Linked DNA regions of Homo sapiens: region 1 is linked to region 2. The links are contacts of gene promoters, found by promoter capture Hi-C in blood cells and fetal thymus (Javierre and others, 2016). All regions are on one chromosome and are shown on one strand. Each heading gives the region's core, a stretch centred on a gene start or on the middle of the fragment in contact. The rest is flanking DNA. Distances are from core to core; before and after follow the strand shown. Region 1 has its middle 7.2 kb from the start of CAND1. Region 2 holds the start of LYZ (lysozyme).

The links. Contacts are between HindIII fragments. The CHiCAGO score rates a contact against its expected background, and 5 or more counts as called.
Region 1: a contact is called between a fragment that was not itself captured here and the fragment with the promoter of LYZ in region 2, in 1 of 17 cell types (activated CD4 T cells). The highest score is 6.8, in activated CD4 T cells.

Annotation. Positions count from the first base shown.
Region 1 is chr12:67,259,775-67,264,574 of GRCh38, reverse strand. No RefSeq gene overlaps it. Among named protein-coding and RNA genes, the nearest start is that of CAND1, 7.2 kb to the left of the region's middle. The HindIII fragment of the contact is 1,180 bases long and covers 2,077-3,256 here.
Region 2 is chr12:69,346,991-69,351,706 of GRCh38, reverse strand. LYZ (lysozyme) reads right to left here and starts at 3,326. Exons shown (of 4, transcript NM_000239.3): 1 at 3,163-3,326; 2 at 1,435-1,599. The coding sequence starts at 3,298. The HindIII fragment of the contact is 11,988 bases long and covers 1-4,716 here.

The sequences.
Region 1 (4,800 bases), core at 1,417-3,916, 2.1 Mb after region 2:
GGATCGAAGAGGTTTTCAAGGAGTTCCATTTCCAGAATGTGGCTTCATCAGAGGACAATGGATCATCAGCTAGTCCCACCACTTAGCTATTCTGGAACTCAGGGTTCCTGTGCCACTCATACCCCAACTTGGAGGGCTGACATCAAAGAGTAAACTGAAGAAATCAAGTAACCTCTCATTTTTCATCTGCACTATGGAAGTGTAACAACTAGACGTGTAACCAGCAAAAGGGTTCGGCCATTTGTTTATAGAAAGGAGTCAAAATAATAATGACATGTGAAAGAAAGAGAGCAAGACTTTACTACTTGTGTTAGCAAGGGGAAGAATGGGTGAAATTTTAAAAAATTTCCACTCTTCCCTTTGTGGAGGGAAGATAGAGATTTTTAAGGAGAGAGGGGTTTGGAATGTAGGAGAGGAAGTGGGTATGAGGTGGCACGGTTTGTTTTAATGACTTATTGTGAATTGTTGTTTTATTTGGTGAAGGCCCTGGTGTCATTTTGGGCTTTAATTAGGTTACAAATTAATTGCAGTCAATTTTATGGTCAATTTTTGTTTTTTCTTGGAGATGGGGTCTCACTCTGTCTCCCAGGCTGGAGTGCAGTGGTGTGATCTTGGCTCAATGCAGTCTTGACCTCCCAGGCTCAGGTGATCCTCTCCTACCTCAGCCTCCCTAGTAGCTAGGACCACAGGCATGCACCATCCAGCACAGCTAACTTTTTGTATTTTTTTTTGGTGGAGATGGGGTTTCACCATGTTGCCCAGACTAGTCTCAAATTTCTGGGCTCAAGCAGTCCTCCCACCTCGGCCTCACGAAGTGCTGGGATAACAGGTGTGAGCCTTTGCATCTGGCCTGTAGTCAGTTTTTAGCTGGGATTGAGTTTCAGCCTTGACTGGGGAGAGAATTTTGGAGGTGTCTGGTTTGTGTTAGGATTTGGCCTTTGACGTTTTAATGGAAATATATGACTAGATATGTCAGTGTGGCATGTACTTAACAAGGATGTAAGTAAATAAATATGCATAACGCATGGGAGTATAGTATGGGAAAGAAGGGGAGTGGCGATTTATAGTACATTTTGAGGCTGTATTTTAAGGCAAAAGGAAGCAGATATATAGTTTGTCTAAAGTTATATTTTGAGATTGGGAGAAGGGAGGAAAGAAAACATTTTGAGGTTGTAAAATACATTTGTAGTTTATTTTCAAGTTATATTTTGAGGCTGGGGAGAAAGTTGGAAAGGAAAAAAAGTTTTAAAATGCAGTTTGAAGTTAAGCTGTTTGGTTGTAATTTTTATTGTCAAATTTTATTTTATTTGTATGGAAAATGGCTGCCATAATTGTTTTGGCTATTTTTTTGTTGAGAAGGGGCATAGTTTGGGGGTATTAGAATGGAATTGATTTATTTGGATTTGGAAATATTTATGAGTATTTGGGCCTATAGACAATATTTATTGGAGTGTTATAGTTTGAGGTTTAGAAAGTTTTGGGGAAAGTCTGTCTTACAGTTTTACATAGAGGGTATAATAGTAGTAAGTTTTATAACACAGGGATATATCTACCCCTGTAGGCCAGGCCAATGTTATAAGTAGTTTTTGTCTCTAACATGGTCCTGACTTGAATTAGAATGTCCCCTATTGATTTAGTGACAATGTAGGGTCGCACATAGATTTAATTTTTTGGTGTATATTTTGTAGGGCTATTTGAGGCATTTTTGAATTTTTTAATTATGTAGGGTTTTTATTGTTAATTGTAATTGGATGTGATGACACGTTGGCTAATATATATATTTAATAGGCTGTAAATAGGGATATGAATATTTATGAAGGTGGCTTTAAGTCTTGTTTAGTTTATGAGGGTGGATTAGTTTAGTTAGTTGTTTTATTTAGAAGGTAGTATTGTACATGGGCTAGGCCTTTTTATGTGATGAAGGCAGAAAAAAGTTTATTAAGAGGCATTTTTATGGAAATAGAAAAGCAAATATTAATGTTGGAAACTATTTGGATGTTAAAGTACTTTTAGTTATAGAGGAGGAAGGCAGTAGTAATTTGACGTTTTCTTTGTCTGTGTTATAAGGAATAAGCTTTAGTTTGTAAAGCCTCAGGAAAGAGGTAGTAGTAATTTTATTGAGTTTAAGTTAGAAAAATAAAAGAAAAAAATTGAAAATATTAGTTTGGAAATTTGTACTCTAGAAAGAATTTAGGATTTAGTTAAAATTATAGAAAATAATAAAAACTCAAAAACAGTGGATAAGACTAGAATTTAATTACAGGTGTATTATAGTTAGGTTTTTTTGAAACTTTTTTTAGTTTTTGTTTTTATTAAAGACAAATTATAATAGGACAAATTTATAGGCAAAATAAGTTTTAGTTTTATTGTATTTGGCTTGTGTATTTGTGTAAAGTCAGTAAGAATAATTATTTGTCATATAGGCTTTTTTAAAAATTGGCTTTGTTGGAACTTTGTTATAGGGAATTTTAGATTAGATCTTTTGAAGTTTTGAGTCCAGTCATGGGTTTATTTGTGTCTTTAAATATTTGTATTAAATGGGCAAATTTTTTCTTTTGAGGTCTCAAGAAAACTTGGGGCTGTGGTTCCTGTTAGAAAGTGACACTTTTTATTTGTTATAGGTTAAGAATTTTGTATAGACACTGTATAGACAAGGTATGAGGTTAGTTTTTTAAGGGGCTTTTATTGGCTTTATAGGTTAATTTTGATATTTTAAAGTAGTTTGTAAGTATGTTTTTTAAATTAAAATTTTGGTAAAATAGTGTTTTTAATTGTGTTATAAAAGAAAATAGATTTTTATTGAATTTATGTAAATAATAATATTGTTATAAATTAAGTATATGTATAAATAGTTTGTAAATTTTGGAGAGATTAGCTAGAGAAAAATATGTCTTAAATTTTCTTTATAGGAGTGTATTTTATCTGACTGTTGAAAGTTGTCAATAGCTAAAAAGAAAAAGTTTTTTGGACTTTGTAAAACAGAAGAATTAACAGTGTTTTAAATAAAAAGTTATAAAAATATTTTTTAATAGTATAGTTTATGTAATTAATTTCTGTTTTGTTTGATATGTATGAACACAGTAGGTTTTATGGGAGTCTTGAATTTTTTTTATTTTACTGGCATAATTTTTAAAGTTATTAGATATTTGTATTTAAGAGTATTTATTAGAGTTTTATAGTTGATTATAAAATTGTTTTGAAAATAATTAAAACAATTGTGGATGACAAAAGTTTTAAAGTAATCATGGTTAAAGCTTGGTTACTTTTGTGGCACATAATAACTTCATATAATTATTATCGATATATATTGAAACAGAATTATAGGAATTTTATATAGTTTTGGAATATATATTGACAATATATTTATGTAAATATAGCTTAAAGAAGAAAGTCAAACACTATTTTATCCTTAACAATCTTTTTGTATAATTTTAATACATTAAATGTTAAATTGATTTTCTTGGACTTTAAGGGACTTAATATTTAAAGAGTCGATTAGATTACAAGAAGGCTTAAAGCCAGGTATGATGGCTTGCCCCTGCAATCTCAGCACTTTCGGAGGCTGAGGTGGGAAGATTGCTTGAGCCCAGGAATTTAAGACCAGCCTGGGAAACATGGGGAAACCGCGTCTCTATAAAAAAATAAAAAAATTAGCCAAGTGTAGTTGTGCACGTCTGTAGTCCCAGCTACTGGGGAGGCTGAGGTGGGAGGATCACTTAAGCCTGGTAGATGGAGGTTGTAGTGAACCATAATTGTGCCACTGGACTCCAGCCTGGGCGACAGAGTGAGACACTGTCTCAAAAAAAAAAGAAAAGAAAAGAAAAGAAAAAAGGCTTAATTTAGAATTTGACTTTGAAAAGTTTGTCAAGTATTCTAGGCTTAAATACTTGATATTATAAAATAAATAAAATTTTAGGTTATTGTCAGTTATTTAGTACAAGTGATAAATAAAAAATAATTAAGACAAAAATCTCTACTCATTGATAGAGGGAGACTGTTTTTTAAATAGGATCCAATAAAAACAGCATGAAGCCAGCATGTCTCTTTTTTTCTTCTTTATTTGTTGCTTATTTAAAAGGCAAATAAAAATCTTTTATTGTTTTTAATATTATATGAAAGTGTTGTTTAAAAGAGAAAGGTAAATTTTACTTTTGTATTTGTGTATTATTAATGTTAAACCCAATTTTTAATAAAACTGTTTAATTATAATGATTGTAAGGTAAAATTTTTATAAAATTTTTATAACTATAATTTTTTGTTAAAAAGTAGATTAATTTTTTGAGAAAACCCTGTTATTTAGACACACGGTCCCATATTTTGGCCCTGGATTAGTATATTTTTATTTTAATGTTTAACCTATGGAGAAACTAAATAATTCCCTTTAAATTTTAGTCAACTTGTTTATGCTTATAGAACTTTTAAAATAAGATGAACTCTTTACAAATTTTTTATATTTATTTAAATTTTTAATTTTGTTTTGTTAAGGTAATTTTTAAAACTCTTTGGATTAGACAAAATTATATTTTTTAACACAAATCATATATACATATATATTATATATATATATATATATATATATATTTTTTTTTTTTTTTCTGAGACAGAGTTTTGCTCTCGCTGCCCAGGCTGGAGTGCAATGGCACATTCTTGGCTCACTGCAATCTCCAGCTCCCAGGTTCAAGCGATTCTCCTGCCTCAGCATCCCGAGTAGCTGGGATTACAGGTGCGCACCACCACACCTGGCTAATTTTGTATTTTTAGTAGAAACGGGGTTTCTCCATGTTGGTCAGGCTGGTCTCA
Region 2 (4,716 bases), core at 2,077-4,576:
AAATGGAGCAAAAGATCATTAAAAACCGATTTGTATTTGCTGACATGCAAATAATTTTGTGTGATAAGAAGCAAATTGTAAAGCCGTGTGTATAATACAATTTAATTTTTGCAAAAGCACACAGTATTTACATGTTTGTATGTGGGTTTATATGTGTATGATATAATTTAACATTCATACACATGATTGATATACATTCTGGAAGAATATATACCAGAATTTACCCATGGTTATAAACCTCTGGGTAGTAAGATTATGGGTGTTATTTTTCTTATTTGTATTTTCTAATTTTTATTTAATGACCAAATATTATTATATAATATAAATTTTTTTAATTAACTGGATTTTAGAAATAAGATTAATGTTCTTTATTGGGAATTTTAATATTTAACAATTTAATAATATCAACTTTGCAAGATTTCTGCAATATTTTTGACACTGAGGATTCCACATGGTATTTCTATTTTTATGAGTTCAGTAAAATATTTGTTTCACTCCAAATAAATAAATCCTTAAGTTAATTTGTTATTTACAATAATAATTCTACAGGAACTGTATTTTTTGAAGATGTAAACTAAAGAATTTAGAAATGGAATATCATCATGTTCCTAATTCACTTAAAAGTCTCTCAGCAGTAGCCAGGTACAGTGGCTAACGCCTGTAATTCCAGCACTTAAGGAGGCTGAGGTGGGAAGATTGCTTGAACTCAGGAGTTCAAGACCAGCCTGGGCAACACAGAATTTGCCTGTACTAAAAATTTCAAAAATTTGCCAGGCATGGTGGTGCACACCTGTAGTCCCAGCTACTTGGGAGGCTGTGGTGGGATGATCACTTGAGGCTGCAGTGAGCTGTGATGGTGCCACTGCACTACAGCCTGGGGACAGGGAGACCCTGTCTCAAAATAAAACAAAACAAAACCAAACAAAAAACTCTCAGCAAAAAAAAAAAAAAAAAAAAAAAAAAAAAAAAGGCATAGAAGAAGCAACTATGGCAAAATGTTAACAACTTTTAAAGTGCATAATGGGCATATGGCTGTTTATTATACTAATGTCTCTAATTTTCTATACATTTAGAACATTTCATAAAAAAAAAAGTAAAACAATTGAAAAAGGACCATACAACTAAATTATCCCAAAACCTCCCCAAAGTAAGCAGGAGCAATGGCATTGTTCTGGACAAAGCATCAGTAAGGCCATTGACAGTAAATTAATAGGTCATTCCAGAAACTTCTGTATATTAAAAAACATCAACCTTTTATGATACCACTTCTTTAATTTCTTACTCAGGGAATTATGAGGAAAATAATAATGACTTTCTGGAAGTTGAGATGTAGTTTTTCTAGGTCCCTCATGAACCTTTCAAGGCTTTTTCATTTGTATTGAGTCTCAATTCTTGTAAGTATAACCAGATTGGTCAAATATTAGCTTGTCTTACCACTGCAGGATAAATGACAGGCATTAACTGCTCCTGGGGTTTTGCCATCATTACACCAGTAGCGGCTATTGATCTGAAATATCCCATAATCAGTGCTTCTGTCTCCAGCATTGTAGTTTGTAGCTCGTGTGTTGTAACCACTCTCCCATTTGGCCAAACACATCCCTGAAAAGAACTTATTTTTAGTAATAAACAGCAACACTAAGTGACTTATACTCTATAGCAAAATCAGTTCTACTTAGCTACTTCTATTTTACTGATTTGTTTTATAAGTATAAAGATTTACTTATAAAATATCTTAGCACTTTAGTGTTAAGATAAGGGACTTGTAAGAGAATCCTTTTGTAATGCAAATCATCTTGTAACACCAACGAACAATATAACATACTTTTAAAATATTAAAATACATGTTTGTTCCATTGCTTTTACCCTTCCCGTGCTCCCATCCCTCAGGCAACATTCAGCCAAGAACAGAAAAATCAACAGAGCTGTTGAGTAGATTTTGTAAATTCATAGCAGATACATAGGCTGATGGAAAAATGCTTTTTTTAATCAGAAAAACATAAGGATTTTCTGATAGAAATTTTCTTATAATATCTAAAGGTGAATTTGGATATCAAGTTAGAATCTTGAAAACAAGACTATTCCGTGATTTCATCCCTTCACTCATTCATTCAAAAATAGCTATTGAGGGGAAATGTCTGAATTCAATCTGAAAACTACAGAGATTATTACATCGACAACTATGTACTAAACTATAAAATAACTTTTCCTCATGGCACATCTTGAATTGTGTGGGAGAAAATGAAAGATAGTTAATCAAGTAGAGTAGATAAAAATAATAAAACATTTCATGCTGAGTTTCTGGGATCCTATACAAAGAGTGACTGAAGGGAACTAGGTTCCTACTGCTCTTGTGTAGGGAATTCAATATATTCTTTAAAAACATCACTGTTAAAAATCCCATGTCGGCTGGGTGCAGTGGTTCACACCTGTAATCCTACCACTTTGGGAGGCTGAGGTGGGCAGATCATTTGAGGCCAGGAGTTCAAGACCAGCTTGGCCAACATGGTGAAACCCCATCTGTACTGAAAATACAAAAAATTAGCTGGGTGTGGTGGTACACACCTGTAGTCACAGCTACTCAGAAGGCTGAAGCACGAGAATCACTTGAGCCCAGAAGGCAGAGGTTGCAGTGAGCTGAGATCATGCCACTGCACTCCAGCCTGGGCCACACAGTGAGACTGTCTTTAAAAATAAAATAAAATAAAATAAAAATAAAAATAAAAATCCCACATCACGGCAGGGGACTTGAAGACAAGAAAAATACTGCATCACTCTAGGCTCTCAGAGCCCAAGTTCAAAATGGGAAATAACTGGAGTCACATACCAAGGACTTGAGAGAGCTCTGCCAGGTCCTCAAATGTATCTTTCAGTCAGCTTACATGTGCCATTGAATCTCAGGCACCCAGCAAACTTCCTAGCACTAGAACAGTACAACAGGTCCTGTTTTACTTAGAATGGAATTTTCCCCTGCCATGCCCGTATTCCTTTATCGGGTATCTCTGGTTATAAAGAACCAAACTGATGTTTTTAGCCATTGTAAGTATACAAACCCACAAAGAAATAAAACATCTATTCACTCAAAGCCCCTTCTTCTTCTTCCTTCTCTCCTAGTGTCTGTTCCATACGTAGCTAATTCTCTGGAATTATGGAGAGTAGACTTACAGTTTGCTAGGCTGATTCCCCTGTAGCCATCCATTCCCAATCTTTTCAGAGTTCTGGCCAACTCACACCTTTCAAAGACCTTGCCCTGGACCGTAACAGAAAGGAGGACAAGCCCCAGAACAATGAGAGCCTTCATGTTGACTGCTAGGTCAGAGTGCTAGGCTGACCAGGGTGAGCTGGCCCCAGTATTTAACATCTTTTAACTTCCTTCTTCCCCTTGTGGTTTGGGGGCTCCACCCTTTCAGTTGTGTGGAAAACAGGAACTGTCTATTGATCCACTGACTCTAAAGAGATTTTTTTAATGCTTGAAGAGAGATATGCTGATGTCCTAAGAATTAGTCTACAGGAAAATAATGAAATGGAATTGTTTAAAGTACTGGCTCTGGAAGAATTGGGGCATAGCACTACTTCCAAGACAGGAACTTTCTTCTGTTTGATTATGAATTTGAGCAATTATAAAGAAAAAAATGACTATTTTGTGCAGCTTAAAATGAGCTGTGATTTTTGAGTAACATTCAATTTTGTGAAATTGTTTTGTATGCATTCACTTTTTTATATTTATCTTTTTTACTTAAAATTATTTTACATATCTTTTCCACAAAATGGACATGACACATGTGCCTGTTGTCTTAATGGGTGTATAGTGTGACACCACGTTGCTCAGCTAGTTTCTTACTCTAGACTCTTTTTGTTACTATAGCAAATTTTTTATTATTATAAATCAGTGTTTTACTATTATAAATAAGGTTCATGTGAACAACTTTACCAACTACCTTTTTTTTTTTTTTTTTGAGATGGAGTCTTACTCTGTCACCAGGCTGGAGTGCAGTGGCGCAATCTCAGTTCATTGCAACCTCTGCCTCCCGGGTTCAAGCAATTCTCCTGCCTCAGCCTCCCAGGTAGCTGGGACTACAGGCATGTACCACCATGCCCAGCTAATTTTTGTATTTTTAGTAGAGACAGGGTTTCACCATGTGGCCAGGATGGTCTGGATCTCTTGACCTCGTGATCCGCCCGCCTCGGCCTTCCAAAGTGCTGGGATTACAGGTGTGAGCCACCACATCCGGCCTACTTTACCAACTACTTTTCACAATACTTTGCCTCCCCTTTCCATATTAGAACATAAGGGGTCATTAGAAAGCAACAGCATTTTAAAAATAAAACCTACCCAAACATATATCCAACTAAATGCTACCTTTGAAAATAGCAATCTCAGGAGGCTGTGCACAGCTTTTAAAACAATGCTACCAGAACTCAAAAAGAACTGCACTTCTGTATCTGCCTAAGAGGACAGATTCTGAGCCACACAAAGTGTCATCACTTTGTAGTTACCCTTATTTTTCATCAGTGGCCTCTAAAGATTACCAGATTTGGTTTTAAATGACAGTTCAAGGACCCTGTTCAAAAATCAAGAATAATCTCATTTTTCAGGCTAGGCCTAATTTTGATTCTTCAATAATAAATAGGGCCAGGTGCAGTGGCTCATGCCTGTAATCCCAGCACTTTGGGAGGCTGAGGTGGGTGGATCACCTGAGGTCAGGCGTTCAAGACCAG